Linked DNA regions of Homo sapiens: regions 2, 3, 4, 5, 6 and 7 are each linked to region 1. Evidence: promoter capture Hi-C in 16 types of primary human blood cells and fetal thymus (Javierre and others, 2016). All regions are on one chromosome and are shown on one strand. Each heading gives the region's core, a stretch centred on a gene start or on the middle of the fragment in contact. The rest is flanking DNA. Distances are from core to core; before and after follow the strand shown.

Region 1 (3,441 bases), core at 294-2,793:
AACTGCCAAAGTGAAATTAATAAATGTTTAAATATGTACCTAGAAATATTAAAAAATGGTAAGCTTTCCAATGATGTTACACTGTAGTCTTTTAAATGGTTTAGTCACAAACAGAAAAGTGTATTTGTGATGTTTAGACAATAATAGCTAATCGTGAGGATCAGTGAAATTGTTTACTTTTATACACCACTGTGGAGTTGGTACCACCATTCTACAAAGCAGTTTGACTGTATCAAGAATGTTTGTTTTTACCCTTTGACCCAGTAATTGTATTAAAGTTGATTCTAAATAATTAGAAATGTGCATAGGTTTATCATCAAGGATGGTAATATCAATGGACTTTAGTGGTTAGCAATAATGGAACAGGATGGTACATTCTGATAAAGGATAATAATGCATCATTAAAGATCCATGTTTTTGTAATACGGGAAAATATTCATGAAACTACATACATCATTAAAAAACATTTGTTTCCCCACTTTGAAGGATAAGATCCTAGGAAAGAGAGATGACAGGCACAGGCTCTGTCTTTAGAACGTGTTCAAATTCCGGCTTTGTTAGTTTTATGATCCTAAGTTCCTTTCTGTCTCAGTAATTTGCCTGTATAATGATTGAAACTATAGTACTGTACCTACACCATGGGGTGAATGCATGAAGGTCAAATGAAAGTGCTTAGTGTCTGTACCGCCTAAGTAAATTTTCGCGATAATAGTCTTCCTGCATCTCTCACTGTAGCGGACAATACAGAAAAAAAAATTTAGAAATGTGATGAATTAGTAAAGGGAAAACCCCATGAGACTCTATAAGAGGGATTTTACCTAATCTGCCAACCTGCCTCTTCCAAGCACTCGGATTTTGGTTGGGCTCCCGGAGCCGGCGTGAATTGAGCTCTACCCTTGCCCGTGAGCGCGCAAAAGAGATTTTGTTGGTGGGGTGGCGGCCTGATGAGTTGTAGTCTTTATTCTAGGGCTGTTTTACTCGCCACCCCCCCAGCCCCCAACACACCCCTTTTAAAATACCGACTCAAAGGCGTCCTCCTATCCCCCTCTCCCTTAGGCGTCACGCAAAGCTCGGACCTGCTCCCACCCGGAGCCGAGTGTACGGTGAGGCGCGGAGCGTTGCGGGGTCGGGGAAGCGCTACCACCCGCTCCATCCCTCTGCGGGTTCGTGTCACGAAGACTACAGTTCCCAGCGGGCTCCACGAGCTCCGGTTGCCCCTCAGGCAGCGCCCGGCGGCTACGGGGGTGCTGTAGTTTCTTCCGGGCTCCCTACAACCTTCTTCCCTCTCCTCCGCAATACAGGCAGTTACTGGGTGCTGGGGCTGTCCTTTGATTTCCGGAAATGGCCGGTCGCCAGTGTTGTCAGAGTTTCCACGGAAGACTGCGCGCTACTCCGGCCAGGAGGGCGGAGCGGCGAGACGCTAGAGGCTTTGCGCTGGGTGACGACTTCGGGCACGTTCTACGGCCGTTCCTCTGGTCGGCTGGGGACCGCGGCCGCGCACGCGCGGCGGGGGGCGTGGGGCTGGGCCCAGCCGGACGCGACCTCAGCCTGCGGCGGCTAACTGCCGGTAGGCGTCTGTGTGCGCCGCCAAGTCGGTGGGGCGGGGACGCGAGGTGTGGATGGGGGGTCGCCTTGACCTCTGCCTCAGCCAGTAGCGCAGTCTCGGCCTCGCCGTTACGGAGATGGTGCCCTGGGTGCGGACGATGGGGCAGAAGCTGAAGCAGCGGCTGCGACTGGACGTGGGACGCGAGATCTGCCGCCAGTACCCGCTGTTCTGCTTCCTGCTGCTCTGTCTCAGCGCCGCCTCCCTGCTTCTTAACAGGTAACGCCGCAGCGCGGAGCCTGGGCGGCGGCTTTTCTCCGAAGGTGCAGACGCCCGGCCCGTGCTGCTTAACCGTGCGGAGGCCGCGTAGCTGCGGGACTGGGGACCAGTGGGGAGAGCGAGCTCCGCAGAGGAGCGGCCTCGGGGAGCACGGCGGAGCGTCGAGGCCGGAAGCACAGGCCGGTGGGGTGGGGTTGATTGCCTCCTTTCCCGAGGCTTCGTCTCCTGAGCTACCTTTTTCTCATCCATTTCTCAAAACGAGTTCTTCATCTTCGTTGCTTTTCAAAAGTGAAATCCGTGTGTCGGCTCAAATTGAGACTGTACACAGGCAGTCAAGTCAGCTGACGGAGGAGTGTTCAAGGTCCAGTTCGTAGCCGCAATTTTAGGCAGAATCCGCACACCTGCAGCGCGTTCTTCCATCTCCCCACCTCCCACCCCCTCAGCTTGCAGCTGAAGCTTTTCCCGCAGTATTGTTGAATAAAACAGACGATCATAAAGATTTGTTGGACAGAAATCAGAAAGCAAAGTGGTACCCGTCCCAACATCCTTAGAATTTTTTATTTTTGAGACGGAGTCTCGCTCTGTCACCCAGGCTGGAGTGCAGTGGTGCGGTCTCGGCTCACCGCAAGCTCCTCCTCCCGGGTTCACGCCATTCTCCTGCCTCAGCCTCCCGAGTAGCTGGGGCTACAGGCGCCCGCCACCACGCCACCACGCTACCACGCTAATTTTTTTGTATTTTTTTTTTTTTTTTTTAGTAGAGACGGGGTTTCACCGTTTTAGCCAGGATGGTCTCGATCTCCTGACCTCGTGAGCCGCCTGCCTCGGCCTCCCGAAGTGCTGGGATTACAGGCGTGAGCCACCGCACCCGGCCACATCCCTATAATATTCTTAAGAGGACTTGATGCCACCCTCCCCAAAAAAACCTGAAATATTCCGAAAGGTTAAAATTGATAAATTCAATTGACATTTTGAAATCAGAAGATTCTGCCCCCGAAATAAACTTGTTTTACTTCATTTTACTATTTCAAGAAATTGTTGCGATGCAATAGGTAGTAGAGGAGACTTTTCCATTAAAATTAACACCAGATTTGCTTTTGGTGGAAAGAAATCTGAGATAGTTCTCATTGACAGCATCCGCAAGCTGTTTTCTCTGATGTTTTGAACAGGCAACCATTCTTACTCTTTATCTTAAGGTAGTTGATTCCCAAGGATAGCAACAGGGAGGAATGCGCAAGGAATTTGGTAACTTCATTTTTCTCTGGTGTAACCATTATTTGTGACTATGTTGAAGTTAGATTTCTTCCCTAAAAGTGGCCTTGCTTTCTTGTTGATTCTTGGTTTAAATATTATTGAGCTTAAATAGTAGTTGATGTTTTACTGAGAAGTGTGCTCTGTGATGGTGAGATGTTTGAACTGTAGGAGTGTGGGAGAAGTGGGATCCTTAACAGAGGGAACACTAATTATTATTTGCTTTCTGTCATCTGGAAGGTATTCCAAGCTAGACTAACAGGTTTAGTATGAAAGAAATGTAAGCTTCATATGATTTTTATTTTTATTTTTATTTTTGAGACGGAGTCTCACTCTCTTGCCCAGGCTGGAGTGCAGTGATGCGGTCTCGG
Region 2 (3,441 bases), core at 245-2,744, 1.7 Mb after region 1:
AAGTGAGTAAATGGTGATGGCTCAAACACAGACATAGAAAACAGGGAGCATAGGATAAAGAGCAGGTGAGATCCTCTTATGTTGTTTTATTCTGTTAATGATGTGCAGGAAAAAAATAATGAGTTTGGTTTTGAATCTTAAATCAGTCAGGATGGGCTGGGCTATTTGGTGGTAACAAATAATGCAAAAATCTCACAGGCTTGAAATAGCAAGGGCTTATTTTTCACTCATGCCCTACATCCATTTTTGGTTGGTGTGAGGTCGGCTCTACATCATCTTCACTTAAGGATGTAAGCTGATGGAGCCTCTTCCCGCTGGAATGTACAAGGAGAAAAGAATAAAATTATTTGCCTACCAGGTTTCAGAGGCTTCTGCCTAGAAGGGACACACATTTCACTGGCTAAAACAAGTCACATGACACACCAATTTCAAAAAGCAAGGAAGTGCAATTCTACCATGTGTTCAGAAAGTGGAGAAACAGAAATAAACAACATATAAGAGTGCCATAATCTGCCCTTCTGGCTACTAAATATTCAGTTTGTCTTCCTTCCTACATGTAAAATACAGTCACCCCAAGGAAAAGAACTCAGAATAGATCTGAGACTTTGGAAGGCTCAGTAACATGTAGGTGGAGAAGATATTCAGGGGACAACCAGAGACATGAGGTCTGGAGTTTAGTAGATAATTTAAGGCTAAAGATTTAAATGTGAGAGTCATCAGCAAAAAAAAAAATGGCGATTAAAACAATAGGAATTGATTCGTTTTCCCAGGGAAATTTTGTAGCTTGAGTCCAGGACCAAGGACAGTAGCCTAGAGATCAACATTTGATTGTAAGGTGAGAGGATATGCAAAATAAAACAAACAAACAAACAAACAAACAAAAAAATCCATCTCACTGAAAAGGAGTGGTGAAGCTGGTAGAAAGTGCATCAGTAGGCCAGGCACAGTGTATCACTCCTGTAATCCTCGCACTTTAGGACACCAAGGTGGGAGGATTGCTTGAGCTCAGGAGTTCAAGACCAACCTGGGCAACATAATGAGAGCTCATCTCCACAAAACAAAATTAAAAAAATTAGCCAGGCATGGTGGTTCATGCCTGTAGTCCAAGCTACTCAGGGAGCTGAGGCCAGAGGATCACTTGAGCCTGGGAAGTTGGGGCTGCAGTGGGGTGACAAAACAAGACTGGAAGGAAAGAAAGAGAGAAAGAGAGAGAGAGAAGGAAGGAGGGAAGGAAGGAGGAGAGAAAGAGAGGAGAAAGAGGAGAAAGAGAGAAAAGAGGAAAGGAGGAGGAGGAGAAGAAGAAGAAGAGGAAGAAGAAGAGGAAGAGGAAGAAGAGGAAGAAGAAAAGAAGAAGAGGAAGAAGAGGAATAAGAAGAAGAGAAAGAGAGTGTTTCAGTAAAGCAAGGTGCGAAAGTGCTTTAGTAAAGCAGGTGTGGTGGAAACATGGGATGAAAGAACTCCAATAAGGCAGAAGAGGTCCAACGCAGTCAGGGCTACCAAGAGGTCACATAAGATAAGGACAAGTGTTAATTGGATTTGGCAATATAACCGCTTTAAGGGGTTATAAGTGAATTTAGAACAATATCGTTTGACTGTATAGGGACAGAACCTTTTTTTTTTTTTTTTTTTTTTTTTTACAGCAAGTTGAGTTGTAGATTAGAGGTGAAGAAGAAATCAAAACAGTGAGTTGAGCTACTCTTTTGAGAGGAAAAATAGAGGGAGAGTGCTGGGTCCATAAAGGGATCTTGGTTTTAGGGTGCAGACAAAAGTATGTTTAGAAAATGAGGAGAGGAGGCAGGAGAGGAGATGCTTCTGAAGAGACAGGGGCTGGATGATGGTTCATGGTCCCCAAAGAGGAAGGAAAAAATGAGATCAATAGCCCTGAAGAAAATCCTCATAAGAATGGAGTGTGTGAATCAGTGACGACAATAATCCAGGTCTGGGAACTCCCAGGAAACAAGTTTAATTAAGGTGACTAGTTCTGGCATGGAGAAGGAGGGATCTACTGTAGTGATGAGACTTGAATCTGAGAAAATATCGGTTGTCTTAAAATTGTGAAAAGAAATGCATTACTAGAAAAAAAGGAGAACCAATTAATAAAAATATGGCAAGATTTTTACTTGACCAAATTTAAGTAAACTGAGAAACAGAAATATGAATTATTAGAAAGATCCTAAACCTACCATTTATACGTTAATTTAATGTATGCTACCTATTTATACAGATCTTGAAGATGATTTTCATGAGGCCAAGATCAATATGCTATTTTTCTTTTAGTTTTTTTTTTTTTGCATGTTTATCATTTCCATCAAAGATGGAATTTCTTAGCTAAATCATTAAGGAGGATATTAACTATAAGCTGTGCCTAAAGAAGAGAAAACCAGTACAATTTTCAGGGACATTATATTTATTTTAGAACATAGATATGTACTTCTTATCCAAGCTGTATGCAATATGAGGACGTAAAGCTCTATAAAATAAATATAAAGAGATACAGAATCATAAAATAACATAATCTGAGGTATAACTTAACTCATTTTACAGTTTAAATTTACTTTAGAATTGTATACTGAGTTCCACTTGTACATTTTTAAAATGTATTTTATGTTAACATATCAACACACTTTTCATAACACACCAATGAGGTGGATCAAACTTAATAGTCCATTAGGACAAGCATTTTTTAAAACTTCATTTATTTAACAAGTACTATTGAATACCTACTATGTGCCAGGCACGATTTTAGGATCTTGGGATATGTTAAATGCACAAAACTGACAAAATTCTTATATTTTTGTGTAGCTGCCTTCTAACAGACATCTGTGCCACCAAACTTTGTATTTTACTAAGAGAAAATATTATAAATTTACCTTATACCTGGGGCTTGCGGGCCTAACACTCTTTTTTTATTTTTATTTTTTAATTTATTATTTATTTATTTATTTATTTTTTAATCTTTGGCTCTTTGCATTACTATAAGATGTGAGAAAGGAAGTATACTCTGGCGAAAGGGTGCTAAATGATGGTCCCTGAGGAGGAAAAAGAGAAGTCAAGATCACATTTAAAACATTCATATGAGCTTCTGTATAGCCAGAGAACAGTAACCAATTAAAAGAAAAATTGGAGCTTGAACTGGGCTCCCACTTTGAATGTAACCTGGTGTTTCCCCACCCTTTTTGATGACCTCAGCCCAAATATGACTGATTCTCCACTTAGAAAGTAAGGTGAAAAACAGAAGTGTGAAGGAATGAGAGGAATATAATGACTCACAGCTGCTGTTGCCACCATGTGCCTCCTAAGTAATGTCAGATTTGCTTATAACAAGAGCAGAGCTAGTCTCAGTTCATACACATCTCCTCTTATTCATGATCTTATGAATATTATTTAAGGAAAACTAGTATCTGCTTAATTAGCTGGACTCCTTTTTAAAAAGTTGTACAT
Region 3 (3,441 bases), core at 396-2,895, 1.7 Mb after region 1:
ACTTATTCAAAAAAAGAAAACAGTCCCCAAAATATTAGTCATAAAAACCCATACCAAATTGTATATTTTCTAAGATTTCCTGAAGAAACTGATTGTGTCTCCCACATTGTGATCAGTTGAATTCAGACCTAATCTAAAAATGGGGCAATTGTCACAAAATGAAGGAATTAGTACTTTAAAAAAGGGAAAAAAAAAAGGCACTATGATACCATGCTTCCCTGTGGCACAGTTTTGATGAAAACTTGGGTCCAAACACTATCTCTAACCTTCAAGACTAAAGTTGGCACACACATTCCCCCATTAAGAAGCTATCAGTAATATTTTAAATTAGAACAGCTGTGAAGAAAAAGGTAATTTTGTTTAGTCATGTTGTCAGGTTCTAACTGAGGTCTGAGGGGAGTGGGTGGGCAAGTGGAGGGTAGCTGGAAAAACACTTGAGGAATCGCAGACAGTTTCAACATGGCTTTACTCTCTCACTGGGTGTGAGCAAGCTGTATGTACAGCGTAAGCAGGGCAATTATACTTTTTACAGACAATAGTGACTCAGAGCCAAGCACGAGCTCACATGACATGGTTACATAATGTGCGAGGTTATGTGCCTGCGCTCCAAACCCGCTGAGTCATGCTGTGCATACAGGCCACCTCGGCCTACTCCTGACTAAAGCACAGCCATTTCCCTTACACATGTAATTTTAGTTTCATTGGGATCGTGCTAGAAGTTACCAGTAATCTGTTTGTCTCACATTCATCCTATTATTCCATGACCTTTGTCAACATCCTGGTTCACCTCCTGTTATCATCCGAACTTCTGTAAGAAGATAAATGCTTTCCTTACCCTATTTCAATTCACCACACCTACCACCAGATTAATCTTTCCAAGGCATACTCTTATAACACTGTCCCCACATTCAAATCCCTTCAAGAGTACACACTGCCATCTATATGAGGAACACATTTCCCAGTCTGGCTTTCAAGGTTGTCCACAATCTGACCTAACATACCTTTCCAGCCTTCCTTCTTATAATTCTCCAACAATTAACCTAAGCTCCAGAACACCTCAAACTTTCCTGTGTTTGTACCTTTGTTCAGGCCTTTCCTTCCACCTGAGTGCACTTCCTCATTTCCTATTGAAATCCTGTCTACTGCTTCAAGGCTTATCTCTACCACAAAAGCATCCCTGATTTTCCTAACTCATGTGTCTCCCTTCCAACAGTCTGATATCACTTACACTTTGTAGCCCTCTTAAGGTGCTTCACTCTGCCTGCTAACAATAATTTATCCTTCCTCCATCAGCAGGGTCTAAACTGAGTATTTCTTGATAAAATAAAAGACCAAACTCTGTAAAAAGATTTAAAAAAAGACACATCTTATTTCTACAAAGAGGGGAAAACATCTTACTATAGATAGAGTAGAACATGTTCCCCAGCAGAAACCTCTAAAAAATTCATGGCCAGGTATGGTGGCTCATGCCTGTAATCCCAGCACTTTGGGAGGCTGAGGCAGGAGGACTGCTTGAGACCTGGAATTCAAGACCAGCCTGGGCAACAGAGCAAGACCCTATCTCTAGAAAAATATAAAAAATAAATAGCTGGGCATGGTGGTGCACACTTGTCATCCTAGCTACTTAGGAGGGTGAGGCAGGAGGATTACTTGAGCTCAGGAGGTCAAGGATGCTGTGAGCCAAGATCAAGCCACTGCACTCCAGCCTAGGGGACAAAGCGAGATCCTGTCTCCTTTATAAAAAAAAAAAACAAACCATGATTAATTCAACCACCTTACCAGACGAGGTGCTATACATTCAAATCATTACAGAGGATATGGAACCGGGAGCAGTGTAGAGGTTAAGTATCCCAAATTCATAAATCTGAAATGCTCCAAAATCTGAAACTTTTTGAGCTCCAATATATTTAACAGAAACACTCAATGGAGCATTTTAAATTTCCGGTCTTTGGATTTGGGATGCTCAACCAGTAAGTATATAATGCAAATATTCCAAAATTTGAAAAAATCCCAAATTCAAAATACTTCTGATCCCAAGCATTTTGGATAAGGGATACTCAACCTGTATCACTTTTCAAACACAGCAATCCAGTCCCTTGTCCCCATCAATACATCATATGAATAATAAAGTCTAACTGTATTCTAATAATGCCTCAATTATCTAATATCACTAGGATATGAAGGGTTCACATAATCAAGTTTTCTAAAGTGGTTTCCTAGTGCAGAAACAGAACTCAGGCATGCCTGCAGCCTGGGCCAGCTGAAAGGTGTTCTTGGGAAATTAATCTTGACTTCACCCTATCTAGCAGAAAACACTCAGGCACAATGGGGAAGTCATTTTGTACCAGTTACTTGCAGCTGGTAAACAGATAGGGAGCATGAAGGAAGGATAAAGAGGGTGGCAAAAACCCTATAAAATGTCAAAAGGATCTTTTTGCACCTGCCAGAATCCTCATTCCAGATTGCTGGTACCATTCACATTTGTAGGTCTCTGAGGAACTTTGGGGAGCTGAACACCTGTTATGTCTCAATATAAACTACGTCATCACCTGCTGGAAGTTTCCATACCCTTTGCCACTGAAAATTTCACACTCTAATTGTGTCTGTTATGGGTGGAACTGTGTCCCCCTCCAAATTCATAGGTTGAAGTCCTAACCATCAGTAGCTCAGAATATGACCTTATTTGGATATAGGGTTGTTACAGATGCAAAATTAAATGAGGTCATACTGGAGTAGGGGAGGTCCCTAATCGAGTATGATTAGGGTCCATATAAAAACAGAAAATCTGACCACAGACAAGCACATAGGGAATATGCCACGTGAAGATGAAGTCAGATATTAGGGTAATGTTCTATAAGCCAAGGAACTCCAAAGATTGCCAGCAAACCACCAGAAGCTAGGTGAGAGGCATGGAACAAATTGTTACTCAGTCATCAGAAGGAACGAACCCTGCTGACACCCTAATCACAGACTTCTAGCCATCAAAACTATGAGACAAATTTCTGTTGTTTAAGCCATCTAGTTTGTGGTCCTTTGTTACGGCATCCATAGGAAATTAATACAGCATTTATTGGTGTTGATATCACCAATCCACTGTGAAAACCACCAGATACCTCTTTAAGTGACCATACTTCTTAAAAGTAAGTGTTACACTCATTGAACAAATACAAGTCAATGGCCTCTATGTGCCAGCCACTCAGGACAGAGCAGTAAGACCAACAATGTCCCTGCCCTCATATAGGTTATAGTGCAGTCAGGATAACTGACAACAAACCAAAATTATACAATGATAAAATTACAATTGCATTAAGAACAAAAATGATATATTTCCCTTCCTCTCTAAACAGATGGTAAACACAGTTAACCATGCATGGAGCCTCATGGTATAGTTGGATGCCTTTCATTTTTATTTTTGTTCCCCTACTAGATATCAGGTTGTTG
Region 4 (3,441 bases), core at 323-2,822, 1.7 Mb after region 1:
CAGAATCTCTGCCATCATGCTAGGAAAAATAAGTTTCTATTCATTAATCACCATCGGCTAACTTTCTACATGACATGCAAATTCAGTATATAGCAGTAGGCTGAATATATAGCAATCCCTAGGTGACAAAGGACTAACAGAAAAGAAGCTAAGTTACTTGTTTAAAGTGATTCAGCAAGTTAGCAGCGGATCCCAATGTTCCTTCTTCCAATTGTCACTACCTCCCATAAGCCGATCATTATCAAAACTAATCAAGACTGAATAAACACTTACCAACAAAGGAGGCAGCGAACACTTAAAAGAAGACCCCTAGTCGCAGATTTGAAACATCTCTAAAATTTTAATAACTCAAAGGGCAAATTAAATGAACAGCTGCTACTTGTGAGCATCTTCCCACACTTCAAAATTCAAGCCAATGCATCTGGAATTTATGCAACTATTTCCTTTCTTTCTACAAATGTCACACTGATAAATCTGAGTACTCTTCCACCGGAATACTTTGGTTACTTTCAGCACATCTTACCTGATCAAAAAGTTCAGTACCATCTGATCCTGCTGCTCTCATTAGTTCATCTTCTCCACCAGGATGATACTCCATATAAGGGCTGACATTATAAACGAAACCTGTACCAAAGCAAACAGAAATAATATCCTAAATGAACTTCTCAAAAATTGTAAAACTTATAAATATAAGTTTCAATAAATCTTTCCAAATACATTCCATTTAATTAATCACTGTTATTTCAAAGTATCAAGAACTAACTGTAAAGGATCTGAGATTTCATCACACTTGCAAGCAAACAACTTAACCTGCCACTTTCATGGGTCCTGGCAGATAACAAGAGACTCCTAGGTCAGAGACAAAGAAGAGTTTAGCACTCACATCAATAGCAGTAGTCAGAATATAAACATTTGTGTCAGTTCACTGAACTCTAATTCACTAGAGTGCTATGTGAAGAGGGCCAGGTAACACCTGTACACTTAATGCGCTGCATTACAGAAGAGGAACTCTGAGCTCAGGAAACTGGAATCTTTTATAAGCATGCCTGCCCTTGCTCCTGAGGGAGATATTTATTATACAGAAGAGTAAGCAAAGCTGTCCTTTCTTCTAGAGGGAGACACTAACATTCAAGGTTGTTCACAATGCAAATATCCTTTAAAAGACTGTACAAAAAGACAGTGCCTCTACTCTCAAGACATGCAAAAATGCAAAAGAAAATTGTCTCCCAACACAAAGAAATGAAATACTGTGTATATAATTTTTGAAAGTACACACACGCACACAGAGAGAGAGAGAGAGAGAGGAAGAGAGAGAGAGAAAGTGACTACTACAGACATAACATTTCCATATTGCCCTGGTAGAAGAATCTGATGAAAAAAGAATCAAGCTCTAATCCACGTCTCTGATCATCTCAGCAAAGGTTAAGCAATGGTGACCACTTAGGCACGCTCTGTGAAAAGGAAGCCCAACTATTCTCAAAGATTATTATTCAGAATTTAATCATTTTGTCTTCTCCAAATATTTCTTTCATCTATTCAACTGTTATTTATTTTTATCTTTTAAGAAAGGAATAGGGAACAACAAACACAAAATATCTCAATGCACAGCTCTCCCAAGGAAGTAAGTTGCTTTTTCATTCTTGAAAACTAGATAGATACCAGACAAATCTAGCCCTAAAGACATCACGAAAGTGCAATAACAACGACTGGTTTTTTTTAAATATCCAGGACTATTTCCTCTTTATATGATGACTTCCATGAATTTAAATAACCTCAGATAACTTAAAATGTTCATCCTATATAATAATCTTGGAAGAAAAGAAGAGGTTGGATTTCAGACCCAAGAAAAGTACTGCAGTTTTTTGACCAGCTATATATTAGAAAATAACCAACCAGTCCAGCTTTATAAAGTCTCTTAAAGGTAAGCACAAAAGGAAGTAAATTCACAGAATTTCTTTCAGCAGCATTCCAAATAAGTCTGAACAAAACTAGTTAAGTTCCCTCTTTTTTCCTTCCCCATATGCCTAGAGTCCCACAAGATTTAGAAGAATTTTTTCCCATTGTTTAATGCTCCAAAATCCAGAGACCAAAAACGTGAGTGGTAATGATTAGGATCAGAATTACTCCCAATAGGCTTTTTTAAGACAGAGGATGCCTCCCAAACAAGAGTTCCAAACTTTCTCTACAATCAAGTCCTGACTGGAGTTCTACAGTTTCTCAAGAACAAGAAATCTACAACCCATGATCATTTGTGATGGAATTCCACGAGTTTCAGCAACCAGCTCTTCTGGTAGCTTAAATAGCTATCCATGATGAGCACATAAAGCCTAAAACATTCCATACATGTTCTCTGCTAACCTGCTAGCCCTTTACATTGACCCTTATACTGTCACAATCTTATCTTTCTTTCTGATAGGGGCTAGGATCACTCCGTGGACGTGAGTAGTATCCCATGCTTTCCAGACGAAAAAAACTAGGAATGTCTATCCCTTACCACAAGGAATTAACACTGTTAAATAGTGTCTCAGTCCAAGATGCTTTAGATCAAAAAGCACTTGGCTGTGTTAGTAATTTGCTAATTATGAAACTTAAACCTAGCCCCAAAACAGAACAGGTGCATTTCTTCTGATTCAGAGGCTCTTCTTTGCTCTTTCTCTCCTTCCTTATCTCCCTTTTTTTCCTTCTCAAAAGTATTTCTGAACAACTAAAAACTTGGACCCCTGGATGTGGCAGAGAAATACAAACATAAAAAAACAAACTTTATGCTTTTTCTTCGTGCTTTATTATACAGGTGTACCTCAGAGATATTGCAGGTTTGGTTCCAGACCACTGCAGTAAAGCAAATAAAGCAAGTCACACTAATGTTTTGGTTTCCCAGTGCATATGAAAGTTATGTTTAGGCCAGGCATGGCGGCTTATGCCTGTAATCCCAGTAGCTTGGGAGGCCGAGGCAGGAGGATTGCTTCATGCTAGGAGTTCAAGACCAGTCTGGGCAACATAGTGAGATCCTGTCTCTACAAAAAAACCCTAAAAATTAGCCAGGCATGGTGGAGTGTGCCTGTAGTCCCCCTGCTACTTGGGAGGCTGAGGTGGGCGGATCGCTTGAACACAGAAGTTTGAGGCTGCAGTGAGCCATGATCATGCCACTGCACTCCAGCCAGAAAAAACAGTGAGGCCCTGTCTCTAAAATAAATAACAGTTATGTTTACGCTATATTGTTGTCTATTAAGTGTGCAATAACATTATGTCTAAGACAATAATGTACATACCTTTATTAAATATACTTTCATAAAAATGCTAATATCATCTGAGCCTTAACTGAGTTAAACGTTTTGCTGGTGAAGTGTCTTGCCTTGATGTTGATGGTTGCTGACTGATCAGCATGTTGGGTGCTTAAGGCTGAGGTGGCGGTGACAATTTCTTAAAATAAGTTGACAGTAA
Region 5 (3,441 bases), core at 286-2,785, 1.7 Mb before region 1:
AATACTTACGAATCAGACTACAACCTAGAATGATACAGTGACTTGCCCAGTTACCTGAAGTGACTGAGCAAGAATTCAGTTTTTTTAAAACTCCAAATTCAGTCTTCCAGAAATTTCCTGTAAAACATTTTTTCAAAGATCTTTGGAATACTGGCATATCCACATAATGACCGTTACTTTTCTTTAAAGCTTATTAGATAACTAAATATGTATAATCAAAACATGATGGCTTTAGCCTTTTTCCATTATGAAGGCTGGTCTATTAATCCTAAAATGGACCAATAGCTAAAGTGTCATAGTCATCTCCCAATAAAAAAAACCTGTACTTTAATAACTGTTTAAGTACCCCAAAATATAAATGACTACCACATATTAGCCCATGTCCCCTTTAAAATATAAATAAAAAATGGGAAGGTAATTTCTGGTTCAATTTTCAGACCTTAACTGTACATACTCCTTTCCAGTGTTAGTTTGCCATCTTGTGGCCTCTTAATCCTGTGCAATTCAGTAACTGAGCAACATGTATGTTAAGTTAGCCTATGAAACTGACAAGCTTTATACACTCATCACACACCTCCACTTTTAAACTTACTTCATATGGAGCCATGTAAGTTACTGTACTTCCAATTTCACTCCAGACCCAACTCCAGCTACAAGTGAAGCAAATCACCTAAAAAAAATATTCTGAGAAAAGTGCTCAAAGAACATCTGAATATTTATTGATTATGCATACACGTTTGCTGAAAAGGAGTGTATGTAACTTTGATGAAGCCAATATGAATATGGCCTCTGATAAAGAAGAGAAAGCAAGGTAGTAACAGGATTTGAATGTAAATTTTGCCAAATGGTGACATGGTCTTTCTCACTACCCTGACAGGATTATAAAATCTACCACAATGTTTGCTTTGTTGAAGGTGTGTGTATATAGTGTGTACATACACACACACACACACACACACGCTATTGACTACTATATAAATTTTCCTTCAAGCAGTATCTAGGATTGTTAACCTGACTCAGCAAGAACACACTGGTCCCTTGGAATAGTCAGATGGTGATAACACAAATAAGACTGAGTTACCTCCAGTGGTAGCTAATTCCTTTCTTAGTTATGAGAAATGAATTGCCATACAAAGAGCTCAGAACAGTTGCTGACACATGATTGTTTATTAAATATTACCTATTGTTCTATCTAGAGCCAGTCCTCAGCCTTGGGCTTCCCAAGCTTCTCTTCCAGGATCTTTGAGCTCGGCACTTTGTAACTGAGGGCCCAATTCTGTGTATGAGACTTGAAAACTCTAAGAGAGCGTGTCTGCCCTTTGCTTCAATGTTGTATTTCCAAGGAAAGCTGCCTAGAGGTTATAGCTTGGTCAGTAAAAAGAAAAAGAAAAAAAAATGTAGCTAGGCCACAGGAATGCTGGGTTCCAGATTATAGTTTTAAAATCAAAATTCAGTTTTTCTCTCATTGTCAGGGATATCAGCTTAGAGAAAGGCAGTCCGAACAACACATACCTAAAGCTCAAGGATTACACAGAGCCAACCAGCCTCTATTTTGTGCTGCTAAGAGCACATCATGATCAGAGCATTCTAGGTTTCTGGTCTTTTCACTTCTGGCAGAGCAGATGTTCTCTTTCATACGGTCCTCAAGATTTTGTTGAAATAAACTAGAATTACTTGTTTCTCATTTTATAGTGATAAGACTTTTTAAACTGAAGACATTAATGTATGACATAACTTCTAATTTTGCCTTATTTACTGAAATGAGAAGTGTATTGCACTACTTCCTGTATTTACAATGAAAACCTAAAAACTTTCCCTATATATTTCTGACAATCTCAAGCTTCATTCTTCTGCCTTGAAATAAATGGCAATACACTCATCAGCCAGGACAATGGAGAACATTCTGAACTAGGGGCCAGAGACCTATTTCATAGGTTTGCTGTTAAAAGTCTTTAAATTTTCCCATGTGACTGTCTTTATAAAATGGGGTTGCTAATTTTCCTCTTCTTATGGGGCAGGGGTGGTTGTGAGGATCAAATTTTAAACTGCATAAATGAACACCCAACTGCCATACTTGATTAGAAATTCTCCTTTAAGAGTACACATGCTTGAGAGAAAATTTTGTACTGCTGCAGCTGAGGTTTTAAAATCTTCAAATAAGTAAATCTAATGAGCCGATCAGTTTTAATAGGGTTGGAAGTAGCAAACAAGGATTGCCAAGAATGACTTAAGTATTTGGATAATGTAAAAGTGTACTGAAAAAACATAAACAAGACTGATTCTCTGTATATCCTTCTCCCATCCAAATCTTAAGTGTCAAGGAGTTGGTTAACATCTTAAAGGCGGCCGGGTGCGGTGGCTCAGGCCTGTAATCCCAACACTTTGGGAGGCCGAGGTGGGCGGATCACGAGGTCAGATTGAGACCATCCTGGCTAACATGGTGAAACCACGTCTCTACTAAAAATACAAGAAATTAGCCAGGTGTGGTGGCAGGCACCTGTAGTCCCAGCTACTCGGGAGGCTGAGGCAGGAGAATGGTGTGAACTCGGGAGGTGGAATTTGCAGTGAGCCGAGATAGCGCCACCGCACTCCAGCCTGGGTGACAGAGCAAGACTCCGTCTCAAAACAAGAAACAAAAAAAGAAAACATGTTAAAGCCTCTGTATAAAAGAAGCAAATCTGACTTGGCAAGAAGGGGGCATTCCTCTTGAGAGGATGACTCACAGACATCTCCAGTGAAGAACTGCCTGGTGTGATCTGCTCCTGAATAGTTTGAAACACACTTGTGTCCTCAAAAGCCCAGTGGCTTCTTGAACACCTCACTGCTACAGAGGGACCTAGGGACATGAGGGCCATCATCATCGTGTCCACTTCTTTTCTCCAACTTACGCAGGGGAAGAGGAGGATCCAGGAGACCTATGGGTGGTAGCACTAAAGACAGTGTAAGTGCAGCTTGCACAGTGAACATTCTTTTGCCATGTTCATAGCTATTCTGGGGAACAAAAAGAACCTGGTAGCAAACAAAACCTCTGACTACAAGTTTCTATTATAACCCTCCCAATTCACACTGACTAGAGAATTCTACTCTAGTCAGAGTCCATTAAATTCCTGCACAATTGCTTCTCATTTCCATTTCTCTCTTGGTTTCTCTGGTTTAAGAGTACACACTGCAGTGCAGACCTCTTGTAGACAGCCCCTTTGTTCTGTGCTCCCTACCTTCATCAACACAGCCACCTCCTTCCTGGCTCCAGAAGTTTATTCTTTTCCTTTGGAACCAATGTTAATTAAACCATAAGCAAAGGTGAATAGGTATACATATATATATACATGCACACATATATATATTAGTAAATAAATTACTAAGGATGGTTTTGAAATTTTCAAATAAGTAAATTTCTATTATATATAGAATACATGATATATATATGATATATATGATATA
Region 6 (3,441 bases), core at 470-2,969, 1.7 Mb after region 1:
GCATGACTAACAGTAAGCAATAAATCAAACCCAGAGCTACTTTATTTTTTAAATGTGTACATTTTTGTACATAATTGATTTAACTTTAAAAATTTTAAATAAGAATGCATACCTTGGATAACTAGGACCTTCTTTGGCAAGTGTATCTGTCACTTGGCTCTTGGGAAGCATGCCTTTACAAAGAAAGATAGCTATAGTTCATCTACAAAGTATTTTTAACTTTTTGTCTTTTAAGTTAACTTCTTAGTGAAATATCACATATATTCATAAAAGGATACAAATCACAAATGTACTACTCAATATATTTTCACTTGATCTTAGCCAAAAGGCCGTGATAAAGTGAAACATACATACCCTTGCAGTCAGCACTCTCTTCATGCCCCCTTTTCAATCACCACCCCTGCCTCAAGAGTAACATGTATTCTGACTACTAACACCATGGTTAGTATTTGCCTGTGTTTGAACTTTATATAAGTAGAATGATAACACATGTTCTCTTTTAGTCTGGCTTTTTGTCCAATATTCTAGACATTACAGTTCTTATGTGAAATAAGCATGATAAATAATAAGCAATAAATCAAATCTAGGCTTTCTGAAATTTTATCCATGCTACTGAATTCATCAGCTTGGTCCTTTTTGTAACTGAGCAGTATTACTTTATATGTATAGTTCACAATTTATTCATTCTCCTGTTGATGAACATTCAGGTTGTTTCCAGTTTGGAGTTATTATACACAGTGTTGATATAAATATTCTTTTACAGGTACATGCATATTCTTAAAGAACACATATCTACATTTTTGGTTAGTATGAAGGGTGTTTGTATGTTTAGCTTTAGAAGATACTACTGAATGGCTTTTCAAAGTGGTTGTACCAATTTACACTTTTTACCACAGTAAAAAGTGTTTGAAAGTTCCAGCTGCTCCACAACCTCACCAACATGTGGTCTTCTGTCTTTTCCCATTTTACTCACTCTTGTGGGTATGCATTCTTGTGGGTATGTACACCCACAAAATGCATCTTGGGTGTATGATGCATTTTAAAAGCCCACTAATGCTATGGTTTTTAAATGACTTCAGAAAACTCTGAGGCATGGAAGAACTCAAGATATTGCAAACATTAAGTGTTTCCCCCCTACAATAGAAGTGCATTGTTTGTATATGGTAAGATTTAGTTTGGAAAAAAGAAGTACTGCTGCTACATGACTTTTGAAAATCATTGCATCAATTATATTACTATTTTTCAAACTATACAGGAACAAAAATTAATGGTTAGTATCTGCTGAGTCTTGGGTGCCCAAATTAGAAATCAAAGTATTTGATATAAATTTAAGAGTTGCAAGACACCTTTGGGACAAGACAGTTTAGAGGTTTTCAAGATTCTTTTTAGACACAAACGTTTTGTTTCAAGACAAGCTCAAGTGCAAGTAAGATGTAAAACAGTCATATTTTTCTGAATGGGCTGATGGTGAGCCCTGAGTCCAGGCCTTACTCATTCAGCTTCCATTTCTTCCCACATAACTCTGCAGAACACTATTTTCAAATAAACAAAGGAAGCCTCAGAGATGTGACAACAAGGTCAGAGTTGTGAACTAATAATTAGCAGTGGGCACTAAAAGAAGAGTGCTCTACTACAAAACTACACGTAAAACAAGAGAGGACTACAAGAATTAAATGTATTTTTTCTAATATGGTAAAAGCAAGACAAAATAATCTTATTAAATTAAGAAGCACTGAAAGATTTCAGAGATTAATGTTGTTTCTCTTTTGGAAGTCTCTTAAGTATATAAATAAAAATCAAATGCATCAAAATCTAAGAATTTCTGTAAGAAAACGCTATAAACAGAATTGATAAATTGTAAGTCAACATTGATCTTGTATGACCTAATTAGGACCAGAAAATCTATACTTAAGCTCGGTGCCAGTACTGTGATTTTATGCAAGCCACTGTTTCCTCTTCCTCAAATTGGAACTATTAATAGCAATGAAATGGTCCCTGCAATCTCATGGGTGAGCAAATGAGACAATAATCAAACATTCTAAAAAACTATTTAGTATAATTAAGATATATCTTATTAAAACAGAATAATAAGCCATGGAATATATCTTAATTTAAAACTAACTAAAAACAAAAAAAACCCTCAAACTTTACATAATATTATTTTGAGTAAGTTGAAAGAATACGGGGTGAATGTGTAGTGAAAAAAAATAATTAAGTAATGCAAGGTGGACTGAATGCATGTTCTCCCTTCCATAAGTATTGGTTGATTGAATGTCGTCAATTTGAAGGGATCGGGTCTCTAGTGGAATAGGAAAGTAGTCCAACCCATTCAGTATTTTAAGCAGCTATTGGAATAGTAACATAGAATGCAGGCAGATCACATTTGCAAATACAGAGACATACCACATAGACTTAAATGAGCCAAAAGGGAAAAGCAGCTAATAAATATATAGATAGACAGATATGTTCCAATCTTACAGGGTCCAGGTCACAAGAGGTAACAGTGCTAACCAAATCACTTGTGGAGTGCTATATTCCATACTTAATGCCACCTTTTACTGAGAAATTAGTCAAATGCAGTGCATCCAAAGAAGGCAACAGAAAAGTACAGGTTCTGGAAGCCACATGTGGTGGAAAGAAAATGCCTAGTCTATCGGTAATCAATCATTAAGCAATGGTTGCTTTTGTAGTGCCACAGAAGAGTCAATCATCAGACGAAACCAAAGATCAGTCCCTCATTTAATAGAGTGTTATATTATCCGATGAACAACTACAGGTACTATAAATTGCATAAATTAGTCCACAATATAGACTATTTCAGTTAACAAAGAAAAAGGTAACTCATCTGGCAATCTAGCTTGTTAGTTGCATTTCTGTAACTTGCTTTTGCAAATGAAAGAAAAAAATGTTTCTAAATGTACATCAATATAGTTCAGTCAGAGTTAGCACCATGCATTTTATGTCAGTAGTGACCACCATGCCAAACTTTTTTGCGGGGGAGAGGAAGTGTCAGTCATTATTTGCAAGTCATCCAGAATGGCTGGATGCACCACTCAGCTTAAAAAATTGTAGATTAATAAACTATTTGGCATGTGTATGCAAACAATGGAGGTGAGCTCACATCTAAGAAAACTGACTTATTTTGTCTTGTTTCTGAGGAAGAAACTCCTAACTGCTACAAGTATTCAAGCTGAGGGAAGATAACATGTATTCAGGGATGTCACAGAAGGCACGACGATAAGAGTAATGGCTGGAATAAGGAGCCTATAAAACCCTACAAAAGACTCTTAAGTTTGGGCCAGTAAAGCTATCTTTCATATTAAAAAAAAAAAAAAAAAATCTAGGCCGGGCACAGTGGCTCACGCCCGTAATCCCGGCACTCTGGGAGGCCGAGGTGGGCAGATCACGAGGTCAGGAGTTCAAGACCAGCCTGACCAACAT
Region 7 (3,441 bases), core at 242-2,741, 1.7 Mb before region 1:
CTGAAAGAAATAGTTTGCTTCTATAAAATAAGGTACTAATCCCTAATAGTGGAGATTCTAGTGCTATCATAAAACCAAATGTCAAATTACCTACCTCATGGCTGGACCAGCTTAAGAATTAGGAGTAGGGGTAGACATAGCCCAACAAACTTTTTCTTTTGAATTAGCATCTTGAACTATTATTATTAGATAGCAATAACAAAGGTAAGTCATTTGAAAGACACATGGAGTAAAGAGATAAAAATGGGTTTTAAAGACCAGAAGGGAACAATGATAAATGAGAAATAAGATAGCCACAGGATGTGGCCACATTCACTGGAATAAAATATGTACGATACAGGATCAAAAGGCAACAAAGAAAATAAGTAGAGAGAACTGATAGGGCCTCTATTTTCATTAAGTTAAGAAGAAAATATTTTACTAAATCAGAAGCTTAAACTTGTAGGGCAAAAGTATTTTAGTATTTTTACTAAAAAGGAAAAGGAGCCTGGGATACTGAATTGGTCTTGATTTTAGAAACAGCAAGAGCACAATGACCAAAAAGAAAATGAATAGAAAGAAAAGTATGAAGAGACGTATTTTTAAAATGATAGGTTAGGCTGGGTGCGGTGGCTCATGCTTATAATCCAAGCACTTTGGAAGGCCGAGGCAGGAGGATCGCTTGATCTCAGGAGTTCGAGACCAACCTGGGCAACATAGGGAAACCCCCATCTCTATAAAAAGTACAAAAATTAGCCAGGTGTGGTGGTATGCAGCTGTAGTCCCAGCTACCTGTGGGGCTGAGGAAGGAGGATCGCTTGAACCTGGAAGGCTGAGGCTGCAGTGAGCAGAGATCGCACCACTGCAACAATCCAGCCTGCATGACAAAAGTGAGACCCTGTCTCAAAAAAAAAAAAAAAAAAAAAAGGCTGGGCATGGTGGCTCATGGTTTATGCGTGTAATCCCAGTGCTTTGGGAAGGCAAGGTGGGAGGGACTGATTGAGGCCAAGAGTTTGACACCAGCCTAGGCAATACAGAAAGACCTCATCTCTATCAAAAAAAAAAGAAAAAAAATTAGCTGGGCATGGTGGCATGTGCCTGTAATCCTAGCTACAAAGAAAGCTGAGGCAGGAGGATTGCTTGAAATTGGGAATTCGAGGCTGCAGTAAGCTAGGATTGCACACTGCACTCCAGCCTGGGCAACAGAGCAAGACCCTGTCTCTTAAAAATAATAATAAAAAAATAAAAAATGACAGGGAAGATGAAAACTGGGAAGGAAGTGGGACCATATGGGTGTCTCTTGATTTCATATAAACTTGTATATGTTATACTATTCCTAGATAGATCTGTGCCTTAAAACTTGTACAGTAAAACATCTGCATCTCTGTTACATGCCTTAAGGGGCTGCTAATGGTGAACAATTAGGCCACTCCTCTATTACGATATGCAAGAAAGAAAAAAATCACCTGTGGTCTGTGAAGCTGCATACTACACACAGAAAGACACAAAGAAAGAAGTCTGGGAGGAATTAAGGGCCAAGTAAACCATAAAGATGATTAAAAGTAATACTGAAGGCACATATAATAATGTCAGAAGAACTGGTACAAGTTCTTACTGGTGAAAGTTCTGAGAAGCAGTGTGATTATTCAGAAATTCAGGAAATGATGGAGAAATTTTAAAAAAGGATTAAGAGAGGCCTGGTGTGGTGGCTCACGCCTGTTAATCCCTGCACTTTGGGAGGCTGAGGCAGGTGGATCATGTGAGGTCAGAAGTTTGAGACCAGCCTGGCCAACATGATGAAACCCAGTCTCTACCAAAAATACAAAAAATTAGCCAGGCGTGGTGGCGGGCACCTGTAATCCCAGCTACTGAGGAGGCTAAGGCAGGAGAATCACTTGAACACGGGAGGCAGAGGTTGCAGTGAGCCGAGACTGCACCACTGCACTCCAGCCTGGGCAACGAGAGCAAAACAACGTCTCAAAAAAAACACAAAAAACAAAAAAAAAACAAACAACAAACAGAAAGGATTCAGAGAATGAAGGATTTCTGGATGAAGGGTATCTGTCTTGCAGAATATAACTATTTTATATCATATGAATATTGAGCCTTTTCTCCAGGAATGGCAAAAGCTGATTAAAGAATTCTACTTATTGCTCACAAGACACATCTAAAATTATTTAAAAGGGGAATTCCACTGACATTCTATTCTAATCCAGTCTGCAACTAAATTCAAAGGTTCATTTTGATTCATTAAGGGTGAGGAGCCTCAATAAATTTGCTTTAAAAACATTTTCATGTTATAATTAAACCTGAAACCTTTACATTAATGACAATGAAACAAAAGAAACTATATTTTACAATTTTTTTTCCTTCTGACCTTTCATGTGTGTACTTGAAAATAAGTGAACAGGCAATATTCAAATCATAAACTGGCTATACAGCAGGTAAGTTTTAAAAGTTGAATTAAAATTCACAACAATTTTCTATAAAGACAATGTAATTAAGTGATTTGCCCATAAAAATCTATTTAATTCATAACAGTTAATCACAAATACTAATAGCACAAGCTTAAATTGATGAGTCACAGGAACAGAAAGCTAAGTGACATTAATTCAGAGGAGGAACAGAAACTCAATCCCTTTCCAGGAAAAGAACAGCACCAGGTAAGTTCTGGAAAACAGAAAGGTTTGTCTTTTGTACCCTCTTCCCATTGCCTTTTCTGTTCTTTCCCTCTGGCTGCCTAGTATCCTTGACCTAAAGCCACCCAAGGCTTGCATGTTGCTTTCAGTTTCCCATGTAACATCCCATTCAGTTCTTCCCTGCCCACTCATAACATCATGCTTTACCCTGTTTTAAAACTCTTTAAATAATTACCATGTATTTCAGAATGAAATATAAACCTTAGTGTGGAATACGAAAAGGACTTCACAGTCTGACCACTGCCTCATCTGTTCTAGTTTCCTCTTTTATCTTTCCCTCTACTCAAACAACTGAGCTACCTGTAGTTCCCCAAATATTCCATTCTCTCATTTGTCTTGATACTACTTTATGTGTTTTTTTCTGTGACTAGGAACACTCTCTCCTCCCTCTTTAGCCATTACTAAGTGAGTAACGAAAATAGACAAGTGGGTTATTATGGCCCACTTCTTTTATTCATTCAGCACCTACTTTATACCAGGCACTGCACTAAGCAATGTACCCTCACTGGATATTCAAGATTCCACTCTAGTAGAAAGACCCATATAATATTGCTACTGGTTTTGAGTTTCCATCAACAGACTACAAAATCCTTAAAGGCAGGGATGTATTTTTCAACTCTTAAACCTCAAGGAGTCTAGTGAAGAGTATACTATATAAATAAAAAGATCCCAAGCCATCTGCTCCAATTCCTTTGCAGATCTCAATTAGGATTTAAGACATTAATTACAGTTGTCCTTTAGAATCTGGGGGCATTGGTTCCAG

Evidence for each region. The method cuts DNA at HindIII sites, captures the fragments that hold promoters and counts their contacts. A CHiCAGO score of 5 or more calls a contact.
Region 2: a fragment that was not itself captured here is called in contact with the fragment with the promoter of SNX14 in region 1 in 2 of 17 cell types (total B cells and naive B cells); the score reaches 10.7 in total B cells.
Region 3: a contact is called between a fragment that was not itself captured here and the fragment with the promoter of SNX14 in region 1, in 14 of 17 cell types (naive CD8 T cells, non-activated CD4 T cells, total CD8 T cells and 11 more). The highest score is 29.2, in naive CD8 T cells.
Region 4: a fragment that was not itself captured here is called in contact with the fragment with the promoter of SNX14 in region 1 in 5 of 17 cell types (total CD4 T cells, monocytes, naive CD8 T cells and 2 more); the score reaches 8.9 in total CD4 T cells.
Region 5: a contact is called between a fragment that was not itself captured here and the fragment with the promoter of SNX14 in region 1, in 1 of 17 cell types (total CD8 T cells). The highest score is 6.5, in total CD8 T cells.
Region 6: a contact is called between a fragment that was not itself captured here and the fragment with the promoter of SNX14 in region 1, in 4 of 17 cell types (non-activated CD4 T cells, M0 macrophages, neutrophils and 1 more). The highest score is 7.6, in non-activated CD4 T cells.
Region 7: a fragment that was not itself captured here is called in contact with the fragment with the promoter of SNX14 in region 1 in 3 of 17 cell types (naive CD4 T cells, activated CD4 T cells and total B cells); the score reaches 6.8 in naive CD4 T cells.

What each region holds. Positions count from the first base shown.
Region 1 is chr6:85,591,960-85,595,400 of GRCh38, reverse strand. SNX14 (sorting nexin 14) reads left to right here and starts at 1,543. Exons shown (of 29, transcript NM_153816.6): 1 at 1,543-1,822. The coding sequence starts at 1,683. RefSeq lists enhancers at 1,251-1,370, 1,681-1,850, 1,299-1,882, 1,883-2,466, 2,467-3,052 and a silencer at 1,401-1,620. The HindIII fragment of the contact is 2,215 bases long and covers 66-2,280 here.
Region 2 is chr6:83,847,175-83,850,615 of GRCh38, reverse strand. No RefSeq gene overlaps it. Among named protein-coding and RNA genes, the nearest start is that of RIPPLY2, 4.5 kb to the left of the region's middle. The HindIII fragment of the contact is 5,957 bases long and covers 1-3,441 here.
Region 3 is chr6:83,864,926-83,868,366 of GRCh38, reverse strand. The region is part of intron 4 of RIPPLY2-CYB5R4 (RIPPLY2-CYB5R4 readthrough); the gene reads right to left. All of the region lies in intron 2 of CYB5R4 (cytochrome b5 reductase 4), which reads right to left. Among named protein-coding and RNA genes, the nearest start is that of CYB5R4, 7.0 kb to the right of the region's middle. The HindIII fragment of the contact is 7,321 bases long and covers 1-3,441 here.
Region 4 is chr6:83,890,705-83,894,145 of GRCh38, reverse strand. RIPPLY2-CYB5R4 (RIPPLY2-CYB5R4 readthrough) reads right to left here. Exons shown (of 18, transcript NR_174604.1): 5 at 524-624. It overlaps CYB5R4 (cytochrome b5 reductase 4), which reads right to left. Exons shown (of 16, transcript NM_016230.4): 3 at 524-624. Among named protein-coding and RNA genes, the nearest start is that of CYB5R4, 33 kb to the right of the region's middle. The HindIII fragment of the contact is 6,192 bases long and covers 1-3,441 here.
Region 5 is chr6:87,274,371-87,277,811 of GRCh38, reverse strand. No RefSeq gene overlaps it. Among named protein-coding and RNA genes, the nearest start is that of SMIM8, 46 kb to the left of the region's middle. The HindIII fragment of the contact is 615 bases long and covers 1,228-1,842 here.
Region 6 is chr6:83,914,737-83,918,177 of GRCh38, reverse strand. RIPPLY2-CYB5R4 (RIPPLY2-CYB5R4 readthrough) reads right to left here. Exons shown (of 18, transcript NR_174604.1): 8 at 113-173. CYB5R4 (cytochrome b5 reductase 4) reads right to left here. Exons shown (of 16, transcript NM_016230.4): 6 at 113-173. Among named protein-coding and RNA genes, the nearest start is that of CYB5R4, 57 kb to the right of the region's middle. The HindIII fragment of the contact is 5,635 bases long and covers 1-3,441 here.
Region 7 is chr6:87,250,686-87,254,126 of GRCh38, reverse strand. The region is part of intron 7 of ZNF292 (zinc finger protein 292); the gene reads right to left. Among named protein-coding and RNA genes, the nearest start is that of SMIM8, 70 kb to the left of the region's middle. The HindIII fragment of the contact is 2,114 bases long and covers 435-2,548 here.